2 separate regions of the Homo sapiens genome follow, and region 1 is linked to region 2. Evidence: promoter capture Hi-C in 16 types of primary human blood cells and fetal thymus (Javierre and others, 2016). All regions are on one chromosome and are shown on one strand. The core of a region is centred on a gene start or on the middle of the fragment in contact, and the rest is flanking DNA. Distances in the headings are between cores, read along the strand shown. Region 1 overlaps TTC21B (tetratricopeptide repeat domain 21B). Region 2 holds the start of PRKRA (protein activator of interferon induced protein kinase EIF2AK2).

Evidence for each region. Contacts are between HindIII fragments. The CHiCAGO score rates a contact against its expected background, and 5 or more counts as called.
Region 1: a fragment that was not itself captured here is called in contact with the fragment with the promoter of PRKRA in region 2 in 1 of 17 cell types (non-activated CD4 T cells); the score reaches 5.6 in non-activated CD4 T cells.

What each region holds. Positions count from the first base shown.
Region 1 is chr2:165,947,739-165,952,631 of GRCh38, forward strand. It overlaps TTC21B (tetratricopeptide repeat domain 21B), which reads right to left. Exons shown (of 29, transcript NM_024753.5): 2 at 1,857-1,986; 3 at 1,656-1,766. TTC21B-AS1 (TTC21B antisense RNA 1) reads left to right here. Exons shown (of 4, transcript NR_038984.1): 3 at 150-187; 4 at 297-583. Among named protein-coding and RNA genes, the nearest start is that of TTC21B, 3.6 kb to the right of the region's middle. The HindIII fragment of the contact is 1,308 bases long and covers 1,258-2,565 here.
Region 2 is chr2:178,448,377-178,453,153 of GRCh38, forward strand. It overlaps PRKRA (protein activator of interferon induced protein kinase EIF2AK2), which reads right to left and starts at 2,799. Exons shown (of 8, transcript NM_003690.5): 1 at 2,590-2,799; 2 at 1,866-2,035. The coding sequence starts at 2,654. PJVK (pejvakin) reads left to right here and starts at 3,002. Exons shown (of 7, transcript NM_001042702.5): 1 at 3,002-3,393. RefSeq lists an enhancer at 1,955-2,529 and a silencer at 2,292-3,071. The HindIII fragment of the contact is 1,572 bases long and covers 1,660-3,231 here.

The DNA.
Region 1 (4,893 bases), core at 662-3,161, about 13 Mb before region 2:
GTATACTAACAATCTAGGACTTTCCTAGGCAGTATTTACAGACATCTGGGCCCCTACTAGAGCTCAAGTCCATTCAGCATCATCCTTGGTGCAAAGCAGAGTTAGCACTCAGGTTCCTCTGAACAGTATTTCTGATTCTGTCATTTCAGTGTCCTGCAAATCACAGTGTCCAACAGAATCAACACTGGTAAGAATAACCAATTAAATAAAAACTTGATTCTAATAATAAATTATTTTGTACTAATTTCTTCAATCTATACTAACTACAGCTCTCCCATGAAAATTTTCTGCTCTAGCTAAACACACTCCCACTGGAGTACGGAGAAAGGGGATCCACAGAAGAGCCTAATCCTGAACCACTTCCATGTATTTGCCCATCCATTTCTCCTCTCTGGCCAATACTCTTCATATTCAAATTCTACCAGTCCTTCAAAGATCAGATTAAGTTCCAAAATTTCAAAAGCCTTCTCAGCCTACTCTTACAGCTGAATAGTGCATACCAACTTCAATTAATTATAAACTCATGTTTCATTTTGTATTATTTAATAGAAACATTGGAATTTAATCTTTGTGTTTTTTACATTTTGTTTTCTCCACTAGATTACCAACTTGATGACATGAACCACTTATTAGAATTCTTTTGTAGCTTGTAACTGTATTAGGCACAGTTTCTTGAAGAAATTAAGCACATATTTACATGTTTTAAATAACTTTGTATTGATTTGCATATGTATGAAGGAGGTATGTCATACTTGGCTTTAGAAAAAAGTCTCGTCTAATATTCAAGGAACCAGTCTGTGACCTTTGTTTATTATGTAATTTTTTGAAACACAATCTATATTTACAATCCTATTAGCTGTTACTGGATATATATTTATGGAAGAATATAACACTACTTCTTCTTTATTACATACAATTTGGATACTCTTCTGCCTTCGCCATTAACTATACATTAAGACAGTTCACATAACTTTATTTTTTATTTTCTGTTTTTTTTTAGAGATGGAGGTCTAACTATGTTGCCCAGGCTGGCCTCGAACTCCTGGGCTCAAGTAATCCTTCACCTCAGTCTCTCAAGTTGCAGGGATTACTGGCTTGAGCCACTGTGCCTGGCAGTTTACACAACTTTAATTGCTGGTTTATGTATAAATTTCCTTCTATAATCTAGTCAGAATCTAGTCAACCTACTACTGCATAAAAATTTGCTGAATATCTCCCAAGAGCTAGCCCTCATAAAGGGTTTTAAGGCTCTCAATAAGCTTAATATACAGAAATAAACTGCATTGGCTGTATATTTGCACAAAAGTTGTAAACTTGGCTGCTGCAGAGCAATTTATGTACATACGGTACCTGTTTCTTTGGCTGTCCTTTTTTTGTGTAACAATTACTAATATACATTCCCTTTTATCTAAAAAAATCCCTATGTACTAATGAAACCTCTGCCAGAGGATATAAGGAACACGAAAATAGTATAAGACACATTTCTTGTGCCTGATGAATTTACACCCTTGTCAGGAAGATAAACATATGTATAAATTGTACCTACAGAAAATACATAATATAGTGTGATCAGACTGAATGACTTGGTAACTGAGAAAAATAAAAATAAACTGAATAGGAAAAAATGTCCTAAGCATTGCATTTAAATATCATACCTGGATTAGGACTCATTTTATGGGCATATATCAGTGCAAGTAGAGAACAAAGTGATACATCTTGTTTATTTTTAATAGCCTCAAATTCTCGAAGAGCTTCTTGAGTTTTACCTGAAAATCAAGATTATGATATGAAAAACTGTTCTTAGTGCAAAGCAAGAATTTAAAACTGATGGAACATGTTTAATGATTAACACGTACCTTCCATTAATGTGCCATAGGCATGATAAAACCTGAAGACTGGATCACTTCCATACCTCTTAATTCCTTCACTGGCAACCAGTAATACATGATGGAAATATCTCTCTTGACAATAGTAATTAATCAAAGTCTAAATGGAAATAATGAAAAAATGTTATAAAGGAATTCTGGTGCTCTGAAATACTCTAAGAAGCAGATAATAATCTAACATCTAGAATAATGTAAAATTCAGGCAATGTGACTTTTTTCTTCCAAGTTTCTTAAAATACTATTAATGGCTAGAACTCAATGCTAAGGATTGCAGAACTGAATGATCATAAAATTACTGAAATAATTCAATGTTTTCTAATAATTTAAATTATTTTTCCTAAGTTTTTGTTAACAGCACCGAAATGAGGCTGCTTTCACCTTTTTTCCTTTGCCCACATTTTCTTGAACGTTTTAGAAAACAGAAAGGCAGACAATAAACAGGAACTAAAAAAAAAAAAAAAAAGACAAGAGGCTTCCATTGCCAGACCATAGGTTTCTTTAAAAAAAAAAATCTTCTTTTTAAAATATCCAGTATTTTATTACAGCATTACAAAGTAATGACAAATTTAATTCTTCAACATATCATCAAATGTTATCTTACTCGGCTTTGAGTTCTGCGACAAATAAATTGTCAGTTAAGAATAAATAAACTATTTTTCAATGAAAATCGTTGTCTTTAAGCTTTTTCCAAAGTTATATTATTTCCATATACAAGACAAAACTACTATCAGGACCTACTAACTTCTGAATAAAAATGGGCCTGTGCTGTCTACCATTTTTCCTACGATTATGTCTAAGGCTTGGTTGCTAACCTCATCAAAGACAGAAACCACACTTTCCCACCATCACTAGGATACACCTGATTCACCAGAAAGCAGTTTGGGCCACCCCATACCTACCTACCTGGACTCTACAGCTTGTTCAGTAGCAGTGAGAAATACAGGTGACTAAGTGACAGGATTGAAATCTAAGGGTATCTAGACAGCTCTGGTTTGTTTGTTTTGTTTTGTTTTGGAGATTCTGTCACTCAGGCTGGAGTGCAGTGGCGCAATCTCTGCTCACTGCAATCTCTGCCCCCTAGGTTTAAGCGATTCTCCTGCCTCAGCCTCCTGATCTGGGACTATAGGCACACCCCACCGCACCTGGCTAATTTTTGTATTTTTAAGTAGAGATGGGGCTCCCCATGTTGGCCAGGCTGGTCTTGAACTCTTGACTTCAAGTGATCCACCCGCCTGGGCCTCCCAAAGTGCTGAGATTACAGGCGTGAGCCACCACGCCCGTCCGACAGCTCTGTTTTATATAGTCTCTTGCTTCTGGAGGGCTATAGTCCATGTACTTCTCTAGATCAGTTAGGCGACTGTTCTCTGTAATTTTACTCTGCCTCCCTCCTTGTGATCACTGCTCCCTAACCTCCTTTTTAGCCATGTTTCTTAAAAGTGTGCTCCATACCCCATCTCCAGACCCCCACAACACATTTCAGTGAAACACAGTTTTCCTCCAATGCTCCATTCCCTAAAGTTGCAGAATGACTTCTTACTTTGCCACAACTAAGGACACGTTTAATACCTTACTTGACTTCTGCACACTATCACTAAGCATCTATAATCCTCCTGAAAGGCAGTGGCATAGCACCATAAAAAGGACGCGAATTTAAAGGCAAAAAGAATCTCTGGTCCTTCTTACAACGCCTCAGTCTGCTCATTTATAAAATGCTGTTAGTAATGCAAATGTACAGGTCACTGTGAGAATTAATTAAGATATCATAGTATAAGAGTTCTATTCTGAAAAAAATAAGTTCCTCTGCATCCCATATGTTAATGGAATAAAAAAAAAATGTGTCCTGCGCCAAGACCTCTTGTCTATGTTCCAGATTCATATTTCCATTTTCCACCTGCTACCCTGCTACTCATGAATCCTCCCTTCCTATTTGCCCAGTCTCTCTAAGTCTAACCACTTAGTAGGTTCTTCTATTTCTCCAGTCTACCTCCCACTAAACATACCTAATGCTACTGCCTTGGTTCAGGTTAGGTTATTCAATCCAAAACATTTACTGACTGCCTACTAGTACCCAGGCACTGGGCTAGCTACTATGAATAGAAAAATGAGTAAGACATGGTTCCTGTCCCCCCGGAAAACCTACATTTTTCAGATGAGACTGTAATCTGAAGACTAACTGAAATATAATGTAGTAAATGTAAGAAAAGAGCTTATAAACTCCTTTGGGAATGTGGGATAGCAACATTTTGACAGCATTGAAAACTGAATGTGGTGTGAGGGGAGGATGGATGACTAAAATCAAGGGAAAGATTATTGGGGAGGATTTCAGAGCTGACTCTTGAATTGCAAACCCCTCATTCTCCCTCCACACACGTACACGCTCTTCCTATTTCCTTTTCATGATTCTTGAGGAAGGTACAGGAGTTAGGAAGAGGAACTGCAACAACACAGATAACAAGTCATCAATGGTACATTGGGATGGCAGTGGTGATGAAGATGACTAAAAGCCACTCCATACTCTAGAGCAGGGTTTGGCAAACCACACTCTGTGGGCCATATCTGGCTGGCTGGCTGTACAGCCAGTGAACTAAGAATGGTTTTTATATTTTCCAGCTGTCAAGGAAAAAAAAGAAATATTTCATAACATGAAAATTACATGAAAGTCAAATTTCAGTGTTCATAAATAAAGTTTTATTGAAACACAGCCATGCTCATTTAAGTATTGTCTATGGCTGTTTTGAACAAGCCAATTAGATGTGATAGACCATACGGTCCATAAAGTCTAAAATGTGTACTATCTGGCCCTTTGTTGAGAAAGTTTGCTATTCTCTGCTCTGGAGGCTTAAGTGAGACAGAGAGTATTGGATGATGAGGTTGGAGACGAAGGTGGGGTGAAAAGCCTCATATTAAGTACTTGGACTTGAACCTCAAGTCTAAGTAATGAGGAGGCCCATTTTTACATTTTACATTAAAGTGTTTTTATTAAAATGTTCATTTGGGTGGCAGTGCA
Region 2 (4,777 bases), core at 1,549-4,048:
TTATCTGCTAACACAGGTATTAGGGATATAGCATACAGGGTCCCTGCCCTCAAGAGCCAACAGAGTAGTGTGGGATTTTTGTCTGTTAATAGGCACCTGAAGTATGGAATGGGATATGTTACAACAAGCCTAAGTGCAGGCTGTAGCGGAGGTTGCAGTGAGCCAAGATCATGCCACTGCACTCTAGCCTGGGTGACAGAGTGAGACCCTGTCTCAAAAAAAAAAGAATGAACACTGGTTGTAATGTGACAAAAGGACATCACAAGACTAGAAGGTAAACGTGTAGCTACAAGACTGCAGCTACAATCCAAGTGAGAGATGATGGTGGCCTAGGCAGTAGCAATGGCCAGAAGAGAGAAGCCGACAGATTCAATGGATAGTTAGTGGATTATTAAACGCCAATGGATAGAGTTTAATAACAGACTGGACAAGAGGGAGAAAGACGGGAAGTAGTTAGGAAGACAAAAGCCTACATTTCTACTGAACTAGGTGATTGTGGAGCCTTTACATAGAAAGGGAATGCAAGAAGAATGGGTTTGAGGGAAAAGATGGATTCAGTTTGGGACAATGAGAGGCTTGAGGGGCCTCTGTGTCATCCAGGCAAAGATGCTCAGCAAGCACAGACTGATACACTATTCTGTAACTGGGCTTGGGATGTAGACAGACATTTCAGAATATTAGTCTTTAGACAGTATCAGAAGCCATGGAGGCAGATAAGCTTGCACAGGAAGCCATGGTAGTGTGAGAAGAGGGCGTAGGCAGAACGGTTGCCATAGGTTGTTAATTTGGGGTCTAAAACACATTGAGAGGGAAAAACCCTCCCTTTTCTTGAATTCTTCCTATCTAGAAATAGACTAGCTAAAGTAAGTAATGCAGTGTTGACTCTATGGTTCCCATGGGGACCCTTCCGGCCAGCACCTACAATCTAACTGCCTCACACAAAAAGTTTTAAACTTTTCTTAAAGTGGCATCAATTAAAATAAAAGACTCCAAACTTCCAGGGACACAAACAAATGCTGTCTTCAGATTTTCCAGATGGTAGAACTTGAGCCTTCCTACTAAATTTTTTTCTTGGCATTCTTCCAAATTAAATTTAGCATCCAATGTTTTCTGTGTTTGCAATTAAATAGATACATAAGAAAAATAATGTCCACATTTACAAATGAGCAACTTTAGTTATCATTTGCTCAAGCTCACAGACCAAAAGAAAGCATGAACTTTAAAATTTCATTGCTTTGTGACTTCATTGCTATACGCATGTTACTTATAATCTCTCTGAACCTGTTTCTTCTTGTTTAAAAAGTGGATAATATACAAAATATCTGTTCAGTTTCAAAAACTAGAAGTTATTATGTAATATATGAGGACCTTCTCCCCTTCCTCATTTTGTTTGGATACAGAATCAAAAGTAGCACAATGGACCTAAAGTGCCAAATGAGTCCATACAGAGAGGAGAGACGCTCAGAAAATTCTGGGGTCATGCCTCCTGGCATCCGCTATAATCTATGAAACTTCACAGTACCTACTGACCCAGCTATGACTGCTCCAAGAACCTTTCCTGCTTCCCTCTAATTCTAAGAAGAACCCTAGGAGGATCCTAGGGTATGAGAAGAGCCATGCAGGATCCAGCCATCCGGCTGGGTAACTTTTTAGTTTCTAAGCTTCCTTGGTATGTGGGGAAGAGAAAATTAGGAAGAGAATCAGATGCAGCTGAAAAGCCCTAACGACCTGAGATGAGAGGTCTCAGTTTCAGAGCCTGTTCCTCACAGCTGTCTGGCAAAAAGAGAACTTTTCCGAACTGAAAAGCAACACCAAGTATTGACTGCCAACCCACTCGGTCATCCAGGTTAACTGTGTATACAGACCTGTGCAGGTTATGTCACCAACGGTTACTCTGAAGGTGAAAGTGGGCACGTGTATTTGCACATCAGATCTTTCACATTCATAAACTGGGATGTTCTTGGTCTTCATGCCGTATTCGTGTAATACCTGAATCGGTGTTTTCCCTGGCTTAGCTGTTATCATCTTCCCCAAACTGCAAAAACCACAAAAAGGTGTGCTTTGCATGCCAAATTGGAGATTGAAGCAGAAGCGTAGAGGCCAGTTTTAACCGCCACCGACGGTGACGAGGGAGGCGCCGAGTTCCCCGGAGGCCAGGGCCAGAGCTGGCGAGGCTGGGGCGCACCTGTCTTCCGGCCCCGCTGCGGCAGTCACTCCGCAGGAGCAGGCGGGGTGAGCGAGGTCTTTAGAGAGAGCACTTGAATGCGGGTAGGAGAGATTCTCAACAGAACAGGGCTGGCAGCAGCGCCGCAGCCTCTCAGGGAAAACCTGACGATCCCTTCCCGGGCGCGCCGACCGAGCGTCACCTCCGCCCGCCCCGCGCGCCGCCAGGGACCACGAGAGGGGCGGGGCCCGGCCGCAGACCCCAACCCTCGCCGCCGAGAGGGCGGGGCCGAGCACCCACAGCCGCGGAGGCGTGGGCGCCGGGCACGGCTTTACCCAGAATGCCTCTGGAGGGCCGGCTCCCCGCGCCCCGGCCCTGCCGCCCAACGCTCCCGGCCCTGGGGCCCTGACTGCCCGCACGCTGACCTGAAGGTCCCACTGTCCTCGCGCTCCAGCGGCGGGGCCTCGGCGCGGTGCCTGCTCTGGGACATGGCGAGAAGGGACGGCTCAGCGGCTGGAGGAAGAGCGGTGCGGAGCGACGTGCTCGCTCCCCGGGTCGCTGGTCCCCGGGAGGAGCTCCAGCGCCGCCACCTCCTCCGACTCCCCCGCCTCCTGCTTGCGTTGCTCCAGCGAGGGGGCAGGCAGGGTGGGGGCGGAGCCTTGGTGCCGTAGCTCCGGCTACGCCCCCTCGCTGCTCCTCTGCGGGCCTCCGTCCCGGCCCAACTCCGCCCCTGTCCCTTCCAGGGTCCGCCCCCTTCCCGCCCGGCTCCGCCCCGCTCCCGCGTGGGCACAGGCATTGGGCTCCCGGGGGTTCTCCGCGCCCGCCCCTGCCGGCCCTGACCAGCCTGTAGTAACTGGCCCCTAGGCCGCAGTTCTTTGTCCTTAGCAGGAGGCCGTTTCTTGCCGGGAGAGAGGGATTAGAGGGATTGTCCGGCGTGGGTCTAGGGTCGTTGAGGCCTAAAGTTAAGCCTTTGTGGGGAGGACGGATTGGGGGCTGGGTCACTTTAAGAAAAAGATTCTAAAATTACGAAGGCAGAATTCCAGGGAGTCTCCCGGGCCTGGTCCTGAAGCTTGAGACCCCGGATATATACGCTCCAGGGGGCTGCGGTGCGCTCTTCGGGTCCCCGAGCCCTGTGTTTAGGAACACGCGGGGACGTCCAAACACCCGCTCCTCTCCCGCCGGGCGGGCTCCTTTGTCTTCTGGGCTTTCGTCGCGAGATGGAACGCTGGGTCAGTGCATCCCAGCAAAACACGTTAGGAGTAAACGAAGGCCTTTCCGGGGACCTGGGTAGTCGGTTGTAATGGCGTTTGCCTGGGATGCAGCACCTTTGGTGGGCCATTAGATGACGTGTCGCTTCTCCAGGGGCTTGCTAGGCACTAGCAGAAATGCTCCCCTGTGCTTACTCGGTGTTATGGAAGATTGCTTGCACAATGCTATTCGTACGAAAGGATATTATTAAAAGTGATTTATGGGCGGGCGCGGTGGCTCACGCCTGTAATCCCAGCACTTTAGGAGGCCGAGGCTGGCGGATCGCCTGAAGTAAGCAGTTCGAGACCAGCCTGGCCAACATGGTGAAACCCTGTCTCTACTAAAAATACAAAAATTAGCCGGGCGTGGTGGCATGCGCCTGTAATCCCAGCTACTCGGGAGGCTAAAGCAGGAGAATCGCTTGAACCCGGGAGGCAAATGTTGCAGTGAGCCGAGATCGCGCCACTGCACTCCAGCCTGGGCGACAGAGTCAGACTCCCTCTCAAAAAAAAAAAAAAAAAAAAAAGCGATTTGTTGTTTTGTTAGCATGTAAGCCCTGGATGCTTGAAACAAGTGAAAGATGTTCAGAATCTAATCAAATTATATCATCTGATGCTTTAATTAGAGCCTATTCTCTCTTCCTCTCCGTCTATATATGTATGTATATAGATTACTATCCATCACTGTTTTAATGGATATCTTATTGGAAGGGCTACATAGTCAGTATTTCACAATATATGAACTCCGCATAACACCTATGGCAAAACATTTCAGCACTCAGGTAAAATTCATTTTTTGCCACAAAATTACTTAAAAACAGGCCAGAACTTTATATAGCTCTTGTTAAAGGTTAAGTAGCTGGGATAATAATGAAACAAAAAGATGCAGCAGGACTCCATTTCAAAGAGAGAGAGTCTGTGTGCCCAACTTCAGAGTAAGAAACCACTAGGTAATAGTTTATATAGTTACTTATATGTAATGTGGCTTTATTTTTTAAATAAAGATTTGCATATAATTGTTTATATCTGTGAATTTATATTTAATATTAAACACAGTTTTGTAAGCATATAAGATGGAAAATGAATGAAATGCTCAATCAATGAGCTGTATGCCATGAGGATTCAAAACAGCACTTTGGTGTTGCCAAAATTCCGGTGGTGGACTTGTGAAGGAATTCCCTTTGGACTAGGTCCACTGTAGATTGTATCCGGGACTATCGTTAGTGCCTAAATTGCATTGCTTCCCACAGCACTATATGCTTCCCTTAAAATTGGCCCATTGCCAGTGGCAAATCACTATCTACTGTGATCCTTATCATAGACATTGGTCATATTTTTACGTTATTAGTTTTCTGTGTATATTTTA